3 separate regions of the Homo sapiens genome follow, and all the other regions are linked to region 3. The links are contacts of gene promoters, found by promoter capture Hi-C in human tissues and cell types (Jung and others, 2019). All regions are on one chromosome and are shown on one strand. Each heading gives the region's core, a stretch centred on a gene start or on the middle of the fragment in contact. The rest is flanking DNA. Distances are from core to core; before and after follow the strand shown. Region 1 has its middle 21 kb from the start of ZNF74. Region 2 overlaps MED15 (mediator complex subunit 15). Region 3 holds the start of SCARF2 (scavenger receptor class F member 2).

The links. The method cuts DNA at HindIII sites, captures the fragments that hold promoters and counts their contacts. A contact is called where the count stands out against the background at its distance.
Region 1: a contact is called between a fragment that was not itself captured here and the fragment with the promoter of SCARF2 in region 3, in 2 of the 25 tissues and cell types used here (liver and lymphoblastoid cells).
Region 2: a contact is called between a fragment that was not itself captured here and the fragment with the promoter of SCARF2 in region 3, in 2 of the 25 tissues and cell types used here (lymphoblastoid cells and mesenchymal stem cells).

Annotation. Positions count from the first base shown.
Region 1 is chr22:20,371,849-20,375,449 of GRCh38, forward strand. It overlaps the pseudogene USP41P. Among named protein-coding and RNA genes, the nearest start is that of ZNF74, 21 kb to the right of the region's middle. RefSeq lists an enhancer at 1,452-1,621 and a cis regulatory region at 1,537. The HindIII fragment of the contact is 3,190 bases long and covers 1-3,051 here.
Region 2 is chr22:20,547,106-20,550,876 of GRCh38, forward strand. The region is part of intron 2 of MED15 (mediator complex subunit 15); the gene reads left to right. Among named protein-coding and RNA genes, the nearest start is that of MED15, 41 kb to the left of the region's middle. RefSeq lists enhancers at 219-388, 2,128-3,118. The HindIII fragment of the contact is 3,773 bases long and covers 1-3,251 here.
Region 3 is chr22:20,435,359-20,439,266 of GRCh38, forward strand. It overlaps SCARF2 (scavenger receptor class F member 2), which reads right to left and starts at 2,467. Exons shown (of 11, transcript NM_182895.5): 1 at 2,224-2,467. The coding sequence starts at 2,396. LOC107985588 (a long non-coding RNA gene) reads left to right here and starts at 2,638. Exons shown (of 2, transcript XR_001755623.2): 1 at 2,638-3,153. The HindIII fragment of the contact is 17,878 bases long and covers 1-3,908 here.

The DNA of each region.
Region 1 (3,601 bases), core at 207-2,706, 65 kb before region 3:
TTCTTCCTTTTGCCCAGCAGGGAATGTCTGGAGAGGGGTAGGCGAAAGGTGATATTTGCATTTCTAAAGGGCTAACAGGAAACAGGAAACACGGCCGCGGTGAGGGGTGAGGGATGGGAAGAGGAGAAGTGAAAAGAAAGTAATAAGAAAACTAATATAACTATCTCTTAGAAAATGGGAGTACTCAGTTACACCCAGATGGGTTCACTAGTGAACGATGGGTTCTACCAAACATTTATGGGAAAAATTATACCAATTCCCTACAACCTCTTCCAGAGGACAAAAGCAGAGAGAACACTTCCTAACTCATTCTCTGAGGCCAGCATTATCCTAACACCAAAACCAGACAGACATTGTAAGAAAAAAACCTAAAAACCAGTATCTCCCGTGAACATAAATGCAAAATTCCTCAACAAAATATTAGTGAATCAAATTCAACTATGTATAAAAAGAATCACAGAGGGTGACACAAGCGAGATGGTAGAGAAGGAGGCTCCTGGTGCTCCCCTTCTCCCATGGACACACGGTAAAACTCTCATCTACACACAGATCAACTCCCTCTGAAAGAAACCCAGAAACCAGCTGAGAGAGGCCTGCACAGGGGGCAATGGGGAGAACACCCACATCGCAACCGGTTGGAAAAGCTGAGACACACTCGAACCACAAGCCCCACCCCAGACACAGTACCTTACTGTGAGGAAGGAATCCCTACTCCCAGCTTTCTCCTGGAGAGGGGAGGGTTTGGACCACACATAGGCAGCCCCAGCTTTTGCAGTTCCCACTCAAGGGCTTGGCTGCTGGGTCACCTAGCTCTGGGAGCAGACATGGGTTAGCAGTTATGAATCCTCTGCGACCACAGAGGACAAAGAGGCAGTTTTAAACGGGCACGTGAGCACTTCCAGCAGCTGTGCTCAGCACAGAGCAAACAGGCAGAAATGCCAGGCTCCCAGTTCCTCCCTGGAAGGATATGTCTGCGGGCTCTCCTAGCTGTTGCCCGAGGGATGGGCTTCTATTAATAACTGGCCTGCACCTGGAGCCAATGAGGCAGGTAAACAATAGATTTCCAGGAGTCTGGACAGGCCTGTGGGCAAGTCCCATGCCTTCTCCCACCCCCTGCTGTATGGTAAAATCAGGTCTCTAACTTCACACATTGAGTACACATTTACCCCTCTCAAATGAAGGTCTAGCTCCTCAACCACCGAGCTTTGGGAGCTGACAAGGCTCTGTATTTGTAAGTCCCACAGGGGCACAGAGACCAAAGAACATCCCCCCAGGCCCAGTGCAGCGTGAACAGGCAAAAAGGCCCGGCTCCTACTTTCTCCCTAGAAGGAGTTTGTCTGCACAGTGCAGCTGCTGCCCTGGGGTTTCTATGCATCTGGGAGCTGACAGAGCAGGAAACCAGTGCTCCTCTGAGACCCTGAACAGGCAGGTGAGCACCTCCACAGCTGCTCCCACTGGTTTGCTCAACAGATAGCGTCAAGCTTCCAACTAACCTGTCCGTCTCTAAGCAGAGAACAGCCAGCATTTGCTAGGCCCCTGGGGGTGACAAAGAGTAAAACAATGCATGAAGGAGTGTGCAGTTTAAACTTGAGTGCAGGCACTTGCCACAGATCCTCTCTCCAGCATTTTGCAGAGCGAGTGGCAGATAAACTCATGCTCCCAGCTTTTCCCTGAGGATAGAATAAACTGGAACACACATTTAATGCCCCAACGTCTCCAGCTGCACCTCAAGGGGCTGGTTTCTATCTCCCCTGTCTGGGGCACTGACAGGACATGACACATTCTAATCTCCTGAGGGCCGCTAAGAACATAGATGACAGTTTGGACAACACAAAAGGTCAAGAGGTGCTCCGAGTGTCTGGCAGGGCTAATTGGTAAGTTCGTCTCTTATACAAGGCCCGTGGGACAAGACTGGGAGAGGTATTTTTCTTTTTTTTTTTTGAGACGGAGTCTCGCTCTGTGGCCCAGGCTGGAGTGCAGTGGTTCGATCTCGGCTCACTGCAAACTCCACCTCCCAGGTTCACGCCATTCTCCTGCCTCAGCCTCCCAAGTAGCTGGGACTACAGGCACCCGCCACCACGCCCAGCTAATTTTTTGTATTTTTAGTAGAGACAGGGTTTCACCGTGTTAGCCAGGATGGTCTCCATCTCCTGACCTCATGATCTACCCGCCTCAGCCTCCCAAAGTGCTGGGATTACAGGTGTGAGCCATGATGCCCAGCCTGGGAGAGGTATTTTTCTTAACTAAAGTACAGAAAATAACAGAGAATCAAGAACAATGAAGAAACAGAGAAATCTGTTCCAAGCAAAAGAACAAGATAAATCTCCAGAAAATGCCCCCGGTGAAATGAAGATAAGTGACTTACCTTACAGACAATTCAAAATAATGATCATGAAGATGCTTACCATGTCTAGGACAGCAATGCATGAACAAAGTAAGAATTTCAGCAAAGAGACAGAAAAAAGTTCAAAAGAAATAATAGAGCTGAAGAATACAATAACTGAAATAAGAGCTCAAAAGAGAAGCTCAACAGACTAAATCAAGCAGAAGAAAGGATTAGCAAACTAGAAGATAGGTCACTGGAAATCATTCAGAGGAGCAAAAATGAAAAAGAATGAAAAAGAGTGAAGATATCTTAAGAGAGTTAGGGGACATCAAGCCGACCAAAATAGGCATTATCAGAGTCCCAGAAGGAGGAGAGTGAGAAGAGATGGAAAGCTTATCCAAAGAAATAACAGTCACGAGTTGCAGATCAACATTTCAGTCAATGGCAGACCGCATGAGCACAGTGGCCATAGCATGCAGCCTAGCTGTGTAGTAGGCTGTCCCATCTAAGTTTGTGTAAGTGCACTCCATGATGTCCACACAATGACAAATTCACCTTCTGATGCATTTTCAGAACGTATCCCTGTTGGTAAGCAACGCATACCTATAATGACTGAAAACTTCCCAACCCAGGGAAGGAAATACAAATCCACATCCAGGAAGCCCAAAGGACACCAATAAGACTGATCTAAAGCAACCCACATCAAGACACATCATAATCAATTTCAAAAGTTAAAGACAAAGAATTCTGAAAGCAGCAAGAGAAAAGCAATGTATTATACACAAGGGAAAACCCGTAAGTGTAGGATTTCTTCTGGGGGTGATGAAAATGTTATGAAATTAGATTGTGATGATGGAGGCACAACTCTGTGAATACACTACAAACCTTTGAATTGTATGTTTTTAAATGGATGAATTTTACAGTATGTGATGCACATCCCAATATAGCTATCTAAAAAAAAAACCTGACCTATTTGTGAATTATTTTGTAGAACATGTTTTCTCTTTTTTATTCCTTTATTCTGTTTTCCTGCAGTTCCCTAACTGTGGTGGAATAAGCTTGGAGGAGATGCCTTCACCTACTCTACTGAGAGGCAGAGAAAGGTTAGGTATGGAAGTAAAATGTCCATAAATAATATCAATTCTGCACCTCCAAAGATGTGTGCCTCTTACACAAATGTCTCTATAATCTGAGGGGTCCAGGCTACCTAACTTGCTTCTTGTTGCTTCACTGCCCATTAGTTCCTCTCTTCACTCTCTAAGCTTCCCATCCCCT
Region 2 (3,771 bases), core at 115-2,614, 110 kb after region 3:
TATTAGCATACTTGGTTGCTTTACTTTAAAATCATTTCAGAATAAACAGTTTATATTACCACTGATAACAAAAGGTAGACTAAACATTTAAGATTACCTTGAAGTTCTAATTGTCCTTAAAATGTATCCCTTTTATTGAGAACATTTTGCTTTTTGTTTCATTTTTTTAAAAAGCCTCTCAAAAGATTTCTTTTCTCTATATGATTCTGCCACCAACTTAATATTCAGCTCATTTGTTTTAGTTTATTTGGAATGTTTAGGAATTGGACCTTTTTCTTTAGATTTGCTATACTTTTCATTTTAGAAAAATATTTTAGGCTGGCTACAGTGACTCACACCTGTAATCCCAACACTTTTGGAGGTTGGGGACTGAGCAAAAGACAAGCCGGCCAACATGGCAAAACCGTGTCTCTCCAAAAAATACAAAAAATTGGCCAGGCGTGGTGGCTCACGCTTGTAATGTCAGCACTTTGGGAGGCTGAGGTGGGCGGATCAGAAGGTCAGGAGATCGAGACCATCCTGGCTAACACAGTGAAACCCCGTCTCCACTAAAAAATACAAAAAATTAGCCAGACGTGGTGGCAGGCGCCTGTAGTGCCAGCTACTTGGGAGGCTGAGGCAGGAGAATAGCTTGCACCACCCGGGAGGCGGAGCTTGCAGTGAACTGAGATTGCACCACTGCACTCCAGCTTGGGCCACAGAGTGAGACTCCATCTAAAAAATAAAAATAAATAAATAAATAAATTAGCTGGACATGGTACTGCATGCATGTAGTCCCAGCTGCTCAGGAGGCTGAGGTGGGGAGGCTCACTTGAGCCCAGGAAGTTGAAACTGCAGTGAGCGATGATCGCGTCACTGCACTCCAGCCAGGGCGACAGAGTGAGACCCCATCTCAAAAAATATATATATTTTTTAGAGAAATAAAATTCACTGAGTTGCCCCTGAGTTGCCCAGGCTGAACTCCTGGGTGTAAGCAATACTCCTACTTTATCCTTCCAAGTAGCTGGGATTACAAGACTGTGCCACTGTGCCTAGCTTTGATTTGTTTTTTTTGTTTTTTGTTTTTTGTTTTGAGACAGAGTTTTCACTCTTGTTGCCCAGGCTGGAGTGCAGTGGCGTGATCGCGGCTCACTGCAACCTCTGCCTCCTGGGTTCAAGCAATTCTCCTGCCTCAGCCTCCCAAGTAGCTGGGATTACCGGCATGCGCCACCAGGCCTGGCTAATTTTTTTTGTATTTTTAGTAGAGATGGAGTTTCACCATGTTGGCCAGGCTGGTCTTGAATTCCTGTCCTCAGGTGATCCTCCTGTCTTGGCCTCCCAAAGTGCTGGGATTACAGGTGTGAGCCAAGGTGCCCGACTTGATTTGGCTTTATCTTCTCAATAGTAAAAGATTTATGTGCTTCTGAAGTGAAAACCCATAACACTGTGGATTTAGAGAGGGCACATTTCCAGCCCAGTTCCTGATACTTGCTGGGTTGTCGATTTTCAATTTTGGTGTATCTTTCCAGTGTTTCTCATGGCAGATTTAAGCAAATATGTGTGTTTACGTTCCACAGGTCTTATATAAAAGGTGTATGTCATGCAGTGTATGTGGCACGGAGCACGTGTTTCTATCCTTTCTCCTTCCTTGTGTTCACTCCACAATATGTTGTGAGGCACTTGTGCAAGATTTCCACATGTCAAGCAAGTGTGGAAATTCTATGAAGCTTTTAACTTTTTGAGGTGGGGTCTCACTCTGTCGCCCAAGCTGGAGTGCAGTGGAGTGGTCACAGCTCATTGCAGCATTGATCTCCCAGGCTCAAGCCTCAGCCTCCCACTTTGAGGCCACTGGCGTGTGCTACCACACCAGGGTAATGTTTGTTTGTTTGTTTGTTTTGTAGAGATGGTGTCTTACTATGTTGCCCAGGCTGGTCTTAAACTCCTGGCCTCAAGGGACCCTCCTGCCTTGGCTTCCCAAAATGTTGGAATAATAGATGTGAGCCTCCACGATTGGCCTCTATGGAGTTTTTTAAGGTTTCTGTTTTCTTATCTGTAAACTGGATGTGTTAGTAGTACCTGCCTCTGGGTGGTTGGGAGAAATCAAGGCGATAATGCATGTGAATTGATGACTCCTGTGTCTGGCACTGTAAAGTGCCAAGTGCTAGCTGTTACTGTCATGATGTTCATTGTTTATGGTTTGTAATACTCAGCCTCAGGTACAGCTGGACACTTATATTTTGATAGCCAGCAGGGGAGCTGGAGCAGACCAAGTGAAGATAGGGAGTTTCCTGACTCTTTAGCCCTTTTTTCTGCAGCAGTTCTAGGGGAGTTGGTGTGCTTTGGAGCAGAAAGGGGCATAATAATCTGTCCATCTGGATGGGGGTGGGGGTGGATGGTGAGGAGTCAGGAGTGAAAGAGCCCAGCCAGGGGGATCAGAGGCGCAGTTTCAGATCCAGGGCTTTCTCCCCTGGAAAGGAGTTGTTGTGGTTGACCCATTGCGTTCAGCCCCTAGATGTTCCTAGATAAACCTGCCTTTGGGGGAATGTAGGAAGTATCATCGCCCACAAGAAAGCTCCTTGGCTGGCAGCATGACAGCTTCCTGTGCTTGTTTCTCACATCAGGCGTCCCCTCCCTCCCCGCTCCCCACTAAGCCTCCTCACGCTGGTCTGGTAGCAGAGCTGGAGCAGATGGCAGTGGCTGCGCCTACTGTGGGTCAGGAGTGGTGCTGGGCACTGCAGGATGATGATGCCTGCCCACTGCATTCCAGGTGCTGGGCTGGCAGTGGGTCTTGCTCAGCCCTGGTGTTATGCAGAAGGGCTTTGGTGACATGGTCCTGAGCCTTGTTTGAGTGTCTTATGTCTAAGTAAAAGTATCTTGTTGCTTTTGAAACCTACTTCCCCTTGTTTTACCTTTTATGGATGTGGAGAAAACAAATTCATTTAAAGTATCGCAGACCTAAAAAATGGTCCAGGGCCTTAGGAGCTGTGAGGTGTTGACCTGGCTGGCCCCCAGGCCCTTCTCCCCTCATACATGGCCACCTTGCTTCTGTTCCTGAGTGTCCTCAGGTTCCCACACCTCCATTGCCCCCATTCTCATACCACTGTCCTTCAGGGACAGGCTGCCTGTGGGCCCCCTTCACACGCACATCAGCTTTCCTATCAGTAATTGATGGGGATAGCCGGAAGCTGGGCGTGTTGACAGAACTGCCTTGGTGTCCCCTTGTTCTGGCCAGGCCTCGCTGCTTATCCCAGCTTTTCCTCTCCCCTGGGCCTTTCTTCTTCATGTTGTCCTGTGCTAATTCCCCGAGCTGAAAAAAAGAAGTGGGGTAGAGTTTGGAGATAGATGTGGGATGATAAAGATTTCAAAAGTGTCTTTGTATTTTTACACTCATCTGAGACCACTTTTCATCATCCTTCCCTCTGCCCTGCCATCTTATGAGTGTAGTGGATGGACTCTGAGTGTCACAGTGACTCAGGAGGAAGGTTGGGTGAGCAGGGCACGGAGCCGGGGCTTTGCCCCTTCCAGGCTGCCCTGCCAGAAGGATGGGCACTTCAGCAGAAGACAAGGATGCTTCTCTGAAATAAGACTTTACCTCAGACATCCGTGTATTGACCACAAGACCAACTCACAGTAGTGATTTCCCTGAAACACTTGGGAGTGAGTGTCCTTGGGGCCAAAGAGGACAATGGGTGGGAGGCAGCCCCTGCCAGACAATCTCAGAAACACAGCAGCTTGCATATAGCGGGCCTTGGCAGCCAGTGGCCTTCACCTCACCTGAGAGTGGGCTTCACC
Region 3 (3,908 bases), core at 1,217-3,716:
TTGTAACTGGCCCCAGCTTCCACCCCCTGCCCCCCAGGGTGCGAAGTGTTTGCCACCTGGCAGCCAATCCTGGTCAGATCCCACCCTTTCTCTGTACAAAGCCCCCAGGGGGTCCCATGGCCCTCAGAAGAAAAGCCCAAGTCTTCTGAGCAGTGGCAGCCCACGGTGGCCTGCCCACCCTCACTCTCTGGCAGCTCCTCCGCCAGCCCCTCCTGGACTCTGCCCAGCCTCCTGGATCCTTCCTGTACTTCCACAGGCCCTCTGCCTTGGGAACCTTGCCCCAGACACCCACAGGGCCTCCGTGCTCTTCTGCAGGCCTGTGCTCACTCACCACCTTCTCAGCCGTTCTCCTCAGAACACCCTAAAGGAAACAGCACTCCCCAACCCAACACCTCCCAGCTCTTGCTAGATGTCTAGACACACTTGCTTTTCTGGACTGTGTCTCCTCTGCCACAGGGTCAGGGTCTCCACTGCAGCTTCCCTACACCAATACAGGCCTGGCACAGTGTAGGTGCATAGGATTTTACTGGCTTTGCACTCTCCTCTCCCCATCCTCCTGCCTCCCAGGAAAGGGAAGGGCTGATGGAAGCCTTGCAAGATGTGGGAGGACAACAAAGACATGACCCAGACCCCAGGTGGGCAGTGCCCAGAGTGGCTGTCCTTCCCATCGACCCTTGCCACTCATGACCACAGCGATCTCCACTTAGCCCCATGAGGGGGTTGTGATCACTATCCCATTTTACAGAGGTGGAGACAGGCCCAGAGAGGTCAAATGACTTGCCCAGGTCCACACAGCTGGGTAGGGTGGCACCAGGATGGGAACCCAAACCCAGGCTCGGTTCCTGGAGCAGGCGCCTCCTGGGAGGTCTGCAGACCAGGGGAGCGGGAGCAAAGGGCTCTCAGGCTCCGGACAGCTAGAGCCTGGCACCGGACCCCCATTCCTGGTCCCGGGCCTGTCTGGGAAAGAGGGCTGGAGTGAGTAGACAGAGACCACGGCGATCGCGCCCTCCCCCTCTCCAGGCACCGCCCCGCCCGCCGCCGCCGCTGCATTCCTGGGGCCGGGGAGGCCCGGGAGTCCGCGGCGGCGGCATCGATGCGAAGCAGATGGCGGGCCAGGCCGGCCCCCGCCCCGGAGGCGGGGCTCGCAGCGGGGAGGGGTCTGCGCGCCTCCGGACCAGAGTTCGGAAACCCCGCGCTGCCCCCTCGCAGCCCCTTGTCTCTGGCGCCGAGCCCCTGGACTCGGCTTGCCCCGGGTCCGTGGCTCAGGCGCCCCGACGCGACCCAGCTCGGAGCCCGGCGGCCGCCTCTGCGGCTGCCAGCCCGTGCGGCGTCTCCAATCCGCGCCAAGGCGCCCCCACACGCCCGCTCCTCACCCCTGCGTGGAGATGCCCTTGACCTTGTGGCCTTTGGCCAGCCCACCGGCTCCCCCGACCCCAGCTCCTAACTCCTGGCGTCCGGGGCTCACCTCTCTGCCCTCCGTGCAAACTCCCGGACTCGCCCCCCCACCGGCCGGGCCTGTCGCCTGCCTGTCCCACACTGGCTTCCCCAGCCGGCGCCCCACATTTGCGCGGCCCCTTCTTGCACCCAGAATCCCCACCTGGTTGTCGCCAGGGTTCCCACATCCTCCGGTCCCCTGTGCCTGTCATAGTCCTTCCGCCTCCCGCTTCTGGTCCACTTCGAGCGCCGGCTCCTCGACGCTCGCCTGGGTCACCACCCTCCCACCCGCGCCCGCTCTAAGACGCGAATCTGTCTTTCCAAGTCTGGCTTGCTCCAGGACCTCCCCGGCTAGCACCGCTCCTCCTCCCCTGACCTTCCTCCTCACTCCCACTCCCGGCTCCAGTCGGACTAGTGCGGGGCTTTAGCACATGCAGTTCCTTTGGCTTGAATGCCCTTCCCCAGCTTTTCCCCGTGGACTTCACAACTCGGTCAAGGGTCCCTTTTTCCAGGTCTTTCCTGATATCCCGGACAACGCGTGTCATCCCCTGGGTGCCCACGGCACTCCATCCTCCCCTCAGGTGACTTCTCGTCCAGGGTTCCCTGGGATGCACTGTCGTGGCCCATGGCCGAGGCTGGGCCTGGAACGGAGCCGCGCTGGCTAGGGAGCCGAAGGGGCCCACACTTGGCGTAGGAAGGTTCCGGTAGCCCCCTCCCAATGCCCGGCGCCGCCACACCACTGCCCAGAGCGTCCCTCTCGCCCCCTCCCCCAGCCAGGCCGGCTCCTACCCGGGAGCACGGCACACGTTGCGGCCGCGAGGGTTCAGTTCCTGAGGCGCCACGGTGTCCGGCAGCATCCAGAGCAGCAGCAGCAGCAGCAGCGACGGCAGCAGCGGTGACGGCGGCCCCCCGGCTCCCCGGCGCCGCGCCGGCCCGGCCCCCCGGGGCCCTGCGCCCTCCATGAGGCGCGGGGCAGGCGCGGGGCGGGCACGGGCGCGGGTGCGGCCGCAGCGAGAGCGGCCGGAAGCGGAGTGCGAGGCCGGGCGGGGGGCGGCAGGAGGGGCGCCGAGCCGGGCAGGAAATTCCACATCGGCTCCCTGATCCCGGGCCAGCCGCGGCCGGCCAGGCGGCAGCGCCCGCCCCGCGCTCCAGACCCCACCCTCCGGCCTAGCCACCGCCCCTCCGCGCAGCCCCCGCCCCCATTTGGCCGCTCGCAAACTTGGGGGCGAACTTGGAGGAGGCCCGCCGAGCGCTGGTGGAGGGAGGGTCCGCCCGAGGAATCCCCGGTTCCCGCGCCTTTCCCTCCGCTCCCTAGACATCTACCGAAGCAGCCGCCCCTGCGCGCCCACTGCGTAGGCCAGGCCCGGGACGGGAAGGCGGATCGGGGACACGGACGCGACTCCGCAAGCCCACCCCCGCTCCCAGCGCCTCGGAACCGGCCAAGGGAGTGGGGCCCGCAGACAGCCCAGGTCGAGGCCGAAAGCCAACTCCACAGCACCCCACCGCGAAGTCCTTGTAGTGCTGGGGTGTGCGGTCAGCTCCCCCTGCGCACTCCTGCGCACTCAGAGCTCGCAAGGGGCGGACCGAGCAGGATGCTTGAGGCCTGTGGTAGACTCGGTCCGGACCAGAGGCCTGGGGGAAGGGGTCTCCGTAGGGACGGATGGGAGAGATACAGAGGAAGTAGAATGGCCAGGCTGTGGACTGCGGTAGGAAGTAGAGGTAAAGACAGAAGGAGACCCCCGGGATGGAAACCCTGCAGTCCTAGTTGAGGAGTGAAGGGGGCTGGGGGAGCCTGGGCGGTGGATTCTGCTGGCTGTCGGATTTCCAGGAGAGGCTGGGGCTAGAGAGTGGGAACTCCTGCATCAGGTAAGGTGGGTAACAGCACAGAGCAGAAGGAAGGTGTGGGAAGGGAGCAAGACAGAGGGACAGGCCCTAGGGAGCCAGCGGGGAAGCTGGACTTGGACTGGGAGGCAGCAGGGTGCGGGTCCCCGGGGGGCAACTGGGGCAGACCGACTCTGGAAGTTGGGCAGGGAGCACAAATGTCCCGTGTGTAGCCAGGTCCTAGTGAGGATGTTTGTCTTTTGGGGACTTGAGAGCTGGCAGAAGGCCTAAGCAGGGAGCGGGCACCTCCGTTCTTTGGGGAGCAGGCCACATGCGGCCCACAGGCTCACTGAGGGAGGGCAGGCAGACTCTGTCCAGGTGTGGCCAGATAGCCCCGAAGGGTGGGGCTGGAGGAGGGGGCTTGGAGGAGGAGCCACTGAAAGGCCCAAGGCCATGGGCATCACCAGGCTGGCACAGGCAGAGAGTGGGATGGGGAGGAGCAGGCCCCTCACTCAGCCATGCTGGTGCAGGAGGGAGGTGGGGTGGGCTGAAAGAGAAGTGGAACTAGTGTGGACACGAATGCAACTACCTGGGGACAAATAAACAGGCCAACCACTTCTGGGCAGCTCAGCCTGGGCACAGCCCTGACCTCA